2 separate regions of the Homo sapiens genome follow, and region 2 is linked to region 1. The links are contacts of gene promoters, found by promoter capture Hi-C in human tissues and cell types (Jung and others, 2019). All regions are on one chromosome and are shown on one strand. The core of a region is centred on a gene start or on the middle of the fragment in contact, and the rest is flanking DNA. Distances in the headings are between cores, read along the strand shown.

The links. The method cuts DNA at HindIII sites, captures the fragments that hold promoters and counts their contacts. A contact is called where the count stands out against the background at its distance.
Region 2: a contact is called between a fragment that was not itself captured here and the fragment with the promoter of UGT2B15 in region 1, in 2 of the 25 tissues and cell types used here (dorsolateral prefrontal cortex and mesenchymal stem cells).

Annotation. Positions count from the first base shown.
Region 1 is chr4:68,668,434-68,672,351 of GRCh38, reverse strand. UGT2B15 (UDP glucuronosyltransferase family 2 member B15) reads left to right here and starts at 1,700. Exons shown (of 6, transcript NM_001076.4): 1 at 1,700-2,457. The coding sequence starts at 1,734. The HindIII fragment of the contact is 11,998 bases long and covers 1-3,918 here.
Region 2 is chr4:68,620,011-68,623,928 of GRCh38, reverse strand. No RefSeq gene overlaps it. Among named protein-coding and RNA genes, the nearest start is that of UGT2B17, 46 kb to the right of the region's middle. The HindIII fragment of the contact is 5,524 bases long and covers 1-3,918 here.

The sequences.
Region 1 (3,918 bases), core at 451-2,950:
GAGAGGCCATGTAGATTTTGCCCTGTTAACCGGGCTCCAAGGGAAACTTACCAGTAGGCGAGATCAGTGGCTGATGCGCATGCACAGAGAGGCGACTGGAGGCTGAGGAGCTTCCTCTGTCTAATTGCTGTGGCCTGCTCTCTGGGGTGGAGGGATAGGTCCACAAGCGACACAGACCTGAGCCCCTCCTAGGATTTGGCACCAGATGTAAGGTTCTTGAATCAGTTTGAACCCCAACAGCGCGCCAACAGACAACAGGAGGCGGTGTGGAGCAACATGCTGTTTTAATGAACGCCTGGTTGCAGGTGGGCTGAGGCCTAAAATGGCATCAGCCCCAAGTGAGGATGGGACAGGGGTTTTGTAGTCCTCTGTAAACAGTAAGTGTCCCAGTCTGTTGTGACTGCTATGTAGTACCTGGATGGCCTATTTCTTGATCTTCAGGGGTACATCTCTTCCAGCCAGGGTAAGTGTCTTCTGGCCGGCTCTCTTCCTGCTTCTGCTATCTTGCTGACACACGCTGCTGATGCAAGTGGTCTTGCATCTTGGGGCTGGGCCTGAGAAGGGAGGAGTTACTCATCCCTTCAAGCCTTCAGGTCCTGAGGAGAATCTTTGAACCCCCTGCATCACTGGCCACCCTCCTGATAGATCCCTGTGATGCCAGGCAGGAATGAGCCGCTTGGGTATCCAGAGAGCTCCCAGTGCCTTTCTGCTACTTCCTCTACCCCTGTATTTTGCTTGGCTTGGTTCTCTAATTTGACTCAGCTTCACATAAAGTCAGGAACTTCTCCTGCAAACAGAACTTCAGCTTCTCCAGTGGGGATGTGTATTCTGGAGAGGGGGATCACCCTTTCCCACTTCCATTGTTGGGGCACTCACAGTGTTTGGGATGTCTCCCAGGTCCTGCAGGAGCAGTACTCTTCCTGCAGAGGGTGTGTGGATCCTCTCAGAATTGCTGGTCTGTTCTTGCAGTTGATCTGCAGCTAAAATTCACAATGCAAGCCTCTGCATGCTGCTCTGTCTGGAGCTGCAATCTAGTCCTGCATCCCATCTGCCATGATCACTGGAAAACCCTCATTTATTTTTTAAAGGGTCCAGAAAATGCTAATCTATAGAGATAGAAATTAGATTAGTGGTTGCCTAGGGTAGGATGGATGCAAAATTTCAGAGTGGGGGGTTAGAGGCTATTGTATAGAATCTTTTGGAGATAATACTGATTATTGTAGTGGATGTAAAATTCTGTGAATATACTAGGAAACATTGAACTGTACACACTAATTGGTGAGTCATATGGTATATGAATTATGTGTCAACAAAGTTTTAGAAGACATTACTTGCACCACGATATTAAAAAATGCCGTTTGAGTTGTATAATTACTTCTTCTCTCTATGTCAAGGGCACCGAACAGGCAGGAGCCTCTCACTTGCCACTGTTCTTAACAGTATTATAAAATAATTACATAAGACAGGTTACTTACATATTCTAGGTCATAAAAATTATTGCTTGACTAGAGTAATTGTAAACATAAAAGAACACCAAACACACTAAAATAAATATGAGGTCATCAATCTTTTGTTGGTCTCCTTGGCATGCACCTATTCAGACTGTTAGTATTATGTATTTACTTCAAATTTTAGCAGTTATATTTTAACTTGATTGATTTTTCCTCAGATATAAGTATGAGAAATGACAGAAAGAAACAACAACTGGAAAAGAAGCATTGCATAAGACCAGGATGTCTCTGAAATGGACGTCAGTCTTTCTGCTGATACAGCTCAGTTGTTACTTTAGCTCTGGAAGCTGTGGAAAGGTGCTAGTGTGGCCCACAGAATACAGCCATTGGATAAATATGAAGACAATCCTGGAAGAGCTTGTTCAGAGGGGTCATGAGGTGACTGTGTTGACATCTTCGGCTTCTACTCTTGTCAATGCCAGTAAATCATCTGCTATTAAATTAGAAGTTTATCCTACATCTTTAACTAAAAATTATTTGGAAGATTCTCTTCTGAAAATTCTCGATAGATGGATATATGGTGTTTCAAAAAATACATTTTGGTCATATTTTTCACAATTACAAGAATTGTGTTGGGAATATTATGACTACAGTAACAAGCTCTGTAAAGATGCAGTTTTGAATAAGAAACTTATGATGAAACTACAAGAGTCAAAGTTTGATGTCATTCTGGCAGATGCCCTTAATCCCTGTGGTGAGCTACTGGCTGAACTATTTAACATACCCTTTCTGTACAGTCTTCGATTCTCTGTTGGCTACACATTTGAGAAGAATGGTGGAGGATTTCTGTTCCCTCCTTCCTATGTACCTGTTGTTATGTCAGAATTAAGTGATCAAATGATTTTCATGGAGAGGATAAAAAATATGATACATATGCTTTATTTTGACTTTTGGTTTCAAATTTATGATCTGAAGAAGTGGGACCAGTTTTATAGTGAAGTTCTAGGTAAGTCATGTGTCTAACTGGTGCTTATTAAGTTCTAACTTTTCTGTGCCTTTGAAGGTGAGCTTATATAAATATAATGTCAGAAGATAGTGTTTTTAAGGGAAATTATGAATTGCAAATGTAAGATGATCTATCAGTCTCAAAAATATTATAGAATGTTGACCTTATAGAATCAGTTAGAACCCTGGGGCCATCACTACTACAGGACACCCAGAGAGTCATAAACCTTCATTGTAAAGCACTAATGATTTCTTTAAACTATCACATATCATTTTGCTATACATTTTTTCATCTTTAAAAAAAGTCAATAGATACCTCAAGAAACATCTTCATGAAGGCAGACACATAAATTTAGTATTTACACATATTTCTAGAAAAATTATCAATGCAGGATTGAGGAATTTGTTTCTCTTTGAGTTCCTCAGTTTCCTCATTTAGAAATTAAATTTTGTTTTTCATGTAAGAAGGATTCCTTCACAGTTGAGTAATATAGTGGCTCTACTCCAGAAACAGAAGCCTAAAACTTGAGATTTCTAATGTTTATACATTCCTTCAATAACAGGTTGACAATTATTTCTTTCAAAAACTGAAATCTTGTTGAAAGTGAACATCTAAGTTTTAATCTATATTTTATTAAACTGCATCTCTCCATCAAAGAAAATAGGGGCCAAATTAAGGGAGAGCACATATCTCTATGTCAATAAATTCTGAAAATGTTTTAATTCTCATTTGTAAATATATTTATTTTAAAAATCTAATTATATTAAGATCTTAAGATGAACCAAGACAGTAGTAGGTGTAAAGATTTCAGTGTTGAGCTCAAAAAACTCATGGTTTACTTTGAGAACCAAGGATCAAGGGACTAGCTTAATAAACTGTAGACACTAGAGTACTTCCTGGAAAGCTGTTTTCATGGGTAAGGTAAGATGAATTAATTGTGGAACTGAAAGAGTTGTTTAAAGGTATATTTGTTACTATTGCAGCTTCAGAGGGAAGACAAATGTGTATTTAAGTTCATAGTGGCTACATTAGTCCATTCTCACACTGCTGTAAAGAAATACCTGAGACTGGGTAATTTATAAAGAAAAGAAGTTTAATAGACTCAGTTCTACATGACTGGGATGCCTCAAGAAACTTAGAATCATGGTGAAAGGCTAAGGGGAAGCAAGCTTGGATCTTCTCACTTAGTGGCAGGAGAGAGAAGTGCAAGCAGGGGAAATACTAGACACTTATAAAACTATCAGATCTCATGAGAGCTCACTCAATATCATGAGAACAGCATGGAGGAATCCACACCATGATCCAATCACCTGCCACTGGGTCCCTCCCTGGACACATGGGGATTATGGGGATTATAATTCAAGATGAGAGGAGATTTGGGTGGGGACAGTCAAACCATATTAGTGACTTATTTTAATAATTATTTATGATTGTGAATATACTGATGTTACATTAAAGATG
Region 2 (3,918 bases), core at 540-3,039, 49 kb after region 1:
AATACTTGTCAATAGATGATCTGCATGGACAAAGTCAGATTTTTACTTTTGTAAACAGTAGTTTTAAAAAGAATGTTTACCCCAATGATTAGGATCTGAAAGTATGTTTGCATTGGAAAGGGAACACCATTATTTTACAGAGAGAGAAAAAAATGCATTTTTTAAAAAAGGAATAGCAGCAAAATGATAAGCACATAATTTTGACATAATAGTCACAAAACTTTTGACTTTACGTTTCTTTATTAAGTTTTTTTTTTTTAACTTATAGTTTAGGTTCAGGGGTAAAAGTGCAGGCTTCTAATATAGCTGATCTCCTGTCACGGGAGTTTGCTGTGCAGACTACTTCATCACCCAGGTACAAAGCCTAGGACCCAATAGTTATTTTTTCTGATCCTATTCTTCTCCCCAACCCTCCACCCTCAAGTAGACCCCAGTGTCTGTTGTCTCTTTGCATCCATGTGTTCTCATCAGTTAGCTCCTCCTCATAAGTGAGTACATGCAGCATTTGGTTTTCTGTTCCTGTGTTAGTTTGCTAAGGATGATGGTCTCCAGCTCCATCCATGTGCCTGCAAAGTACATGATCTCAGTCTTTTTTATGGCTGCATAGTATTCCATGGTGTATATGTACCATATATTCTTTATCCAGTCTACCACTGATGGGCATTTAGGTGATTCCATATCTTTCCTATTGTGAACAGTGCTGCAATGAACATAAATGTACATGTGTCTTTATGGTAGAATGATACATATTCCTTTGGGCATATATCCAGTAATAGGACTGCTGGGTCAAATGGTAGTTCTGCTTTTAGCTTTTTGAGTAATCACCACACCTCTTTCCACAATGGTTGAACTAATTTATACTTCCACCAACAGTGTATAAATGTTCCCTTTGCTCTGCAACCTCACCAGTATCTGCTATTTTTTGACTAATTATAGCCACTCTTACTTGTGTGAAATAGTATCTCACTGTGGTTTTGATTTGCATTTATCTAATGATCAGTGGTATCTCACTGTGGTTACAATTTGCATTTCCCTAATGATCAGTGATATTGACCTTTTTGTTCATATGCTTGTTGGCTGCTTGTATATCTTCCTTTGTAACGTGTCTATAGTGATGAACCAAGATGGCTGAACAGGAACGGCTCTGGTCTGCAGCTCCCAGCATGATCAATGCAGAAGATGGGTGATTTCTGCATTTTCAACTGAGGTACCTGGTTCATCTCACTGGGACTGGTTGGACAGTGGGTGCAGCCCACGGAAGGCAGGCTGAAGCTGGGCGGGGCATCGCCTCACCCCGGAGGTGCAAGGGGTTGGGGGATTTCCCTTTCCTAGCCAGGGGAAGCCATGACAGACTCTACCAGGAAAATCAGGACACTCCCACCTTAATACTGCACTTTTCCAATGGTCTCAGCAAATGACACACCCAGGAGATTACATCCCATGCCTGGCTCAGTGGGTCCCATGCCCATGGAGCCTTGCTCACTGCTAGCACAGCAGTCCAAGATCCAACTGCAAGGAGGCAGACTGGCTGGGGGAGGGGCATTCGCCATTGCTGAGGCTTGAGTAGGTAAACAAAGCAGCCAGGACGCTTGAACTGGGTGGAGCCCACCACAGCTCAAGGAGGCCTGCCTACCTCTGTAGACTCCACCTTTGCTGGCAGGGCATAGCTGAACAAAAGGCAGCAGAAGCTTCTGCAGACTTAAACATCCCTGTCTGACAGCTCTGAAGAGAGCAGTGGTTCTCCCACCATGGTGTTTGAGCTCTGAAATGGACAGACTGCCTCCTCAAGTGGGTCTCTGGCCCCTGGGTAGCCTAACTGGGAGACACTTCTGAGTAGGGGCCAACTGACACCTCATGCAGCCAGGTGCCCCTCTGAGATGAAGCTTCCAGAGGAAGGATCAGGCAGCAATGTTTGCTGTTCTACAATACTTGCTGTTGATCTTTTCAAAAAACCAGCTCCTGGATTCATTGATTTTTTTGAAGGGTTTTTTTGTGTGTCTCTATCTCCTTCAGTTCTGTTCTAATCTTAGGTATTGCTTGCCTTCTGCTAGCTTTTGAATGTGTTTACTCTTGCTTCTCTAGTTCTTTTAATTGTGATGTTAGGGTGTTGATTTTAGATTTTTCTTGCTTTCTTTTGTGGGCATTTAGTACTATAAATTTCCTTCTACACACTGCTTTAAAGGTGTCCCAGAGATTATGGTATATTGTGTCTTTGTTCTCATTGGTGTCAAAGAACATCTTTACTTCTGCCTGCATTTTGTTATTTACACAGTAGTCATGCAGGAGCAGGTTGTTGAGTTTCCATGTAGTTGTGTGGTTTTGAGTGAGTTTCTTAATCCTGAGTTCTAATTTCAGTGTACTGTGGTCTGAGAGACAGTTTGTTGTTATTTCTGTTCTTTTACATTTGTTGTGGAGGGCTTTACTTCCAACTATGTGGTCAGTTTTGGAACAAGTGTGATGTGGTTCCAAGAAGAATGCATATTCTGTTGACTTTTGGGTGGAGAGTTCTGTAGATGTCTATTAGGTCTGCTCGTTGCAGAGCTGAGTTCAAGTCCTGGATATCCTTGTTAACCTTCTGTTTCATGGATGTGTCTAATATTGACAGTGGGGTGTTAAAGTCTCCCTTTACTATCGTGTGGGAGCCTAAGTCTCTTTGTAGGTCTCCAAGGACTTGCCTTATGAATCTGGGTGCTCCTGTATTCAGTGCATATATATTTAGAATAGTTATCTCTTCTTGTTGAATTGATCCCTTTATCATTATGTAATGGCTTTCTTTGTCTCCTGATCTTTGTTGATTTAAAGTCTGTTTTATCAGAGACTAGGATTACAACCCCTGCTTTTTTTTGTTTTCCGTTTGGTTGTTAGATCTTCCTCCAACCCTTTATTTGAGCCTATGTGTGTCTCTGCACGTGAGATGGGTCTCCTGAATATAGCACACTGATGGGTCTGGACTCTATTCAATTTGCCGGTCTTTGTCTTTTAACTGGGGCATTTAGCCAATTTACCTTTAAGGTTAATATTGTTATGTGTGAATTTGATCCTGTCATTGTGATGTTAGCTGGTTATTTTGCCTGTTAGTTGATGCAGTTTCTTCCTAACATCAATGGTCTTTACAATTTGGCATGTTTTTGCAGTGGCTAGTACCAGTTGTTCCTTTCCATATTTAGTGCTTCCTTCAGGAGCTCTTTTAAGGCAGTTCTGGTGGTGACAAGATCTCTCAGTATTTGCTTGTCTGTAAAGGATTTTATTTCTCCTTCACTTATGAAGCTTAGTTTGGCTGGATATGAAATTCTGGGTTGAAAATTCTTTTCTTTAAGAATGTTGAATATTGACCCCCACCCTCTTCTGGCTTGTAGAGTTTCTGCTGAGAGAGCTGCTGTTAGTCTGATGGGCTTCCCTTTGTGGGTAACCCGATCTTTCTCTCTGGCTGCCCTTAACATTTTTTCCTGCATTTCAACCTTGGTGAACCTGACAATTATGTGCCTTGGGTTTGCTCTTCTCGAGGATTATCTTTATGGTGTTCTCTGTACTTCTTGAATTTGAATGTTGGCCTGCCTTGCTAGGTTGGGGAAGTTCTCCTGGATAATAAACTGAAGAGTGTTTTCCAACTTGGTTCCATTCTCCCTATCACTTTCAGGTACACCAATCTAATGTATATTTGGCCTCTTCACACAATCCTGTATTTCTTGCAGGCTTTGTTCATTTCTTTTTCTTCTTTTTTCTCTTACCTTGTCTTCTCACAATTATTTCATAAATTTGATCTTCAGTCATTGATACCCTTTCTTCCACTTGATTGATTCAGCTATTGAACCTTGTGCATGCATCACGAAGTTCTCGTGCCATGGTTTTCAGCTCCATCAGGTCATTTAAGGTCTTCTCTACACTGTTTATTCTAACTATCCATTTGTCTAACCTTTT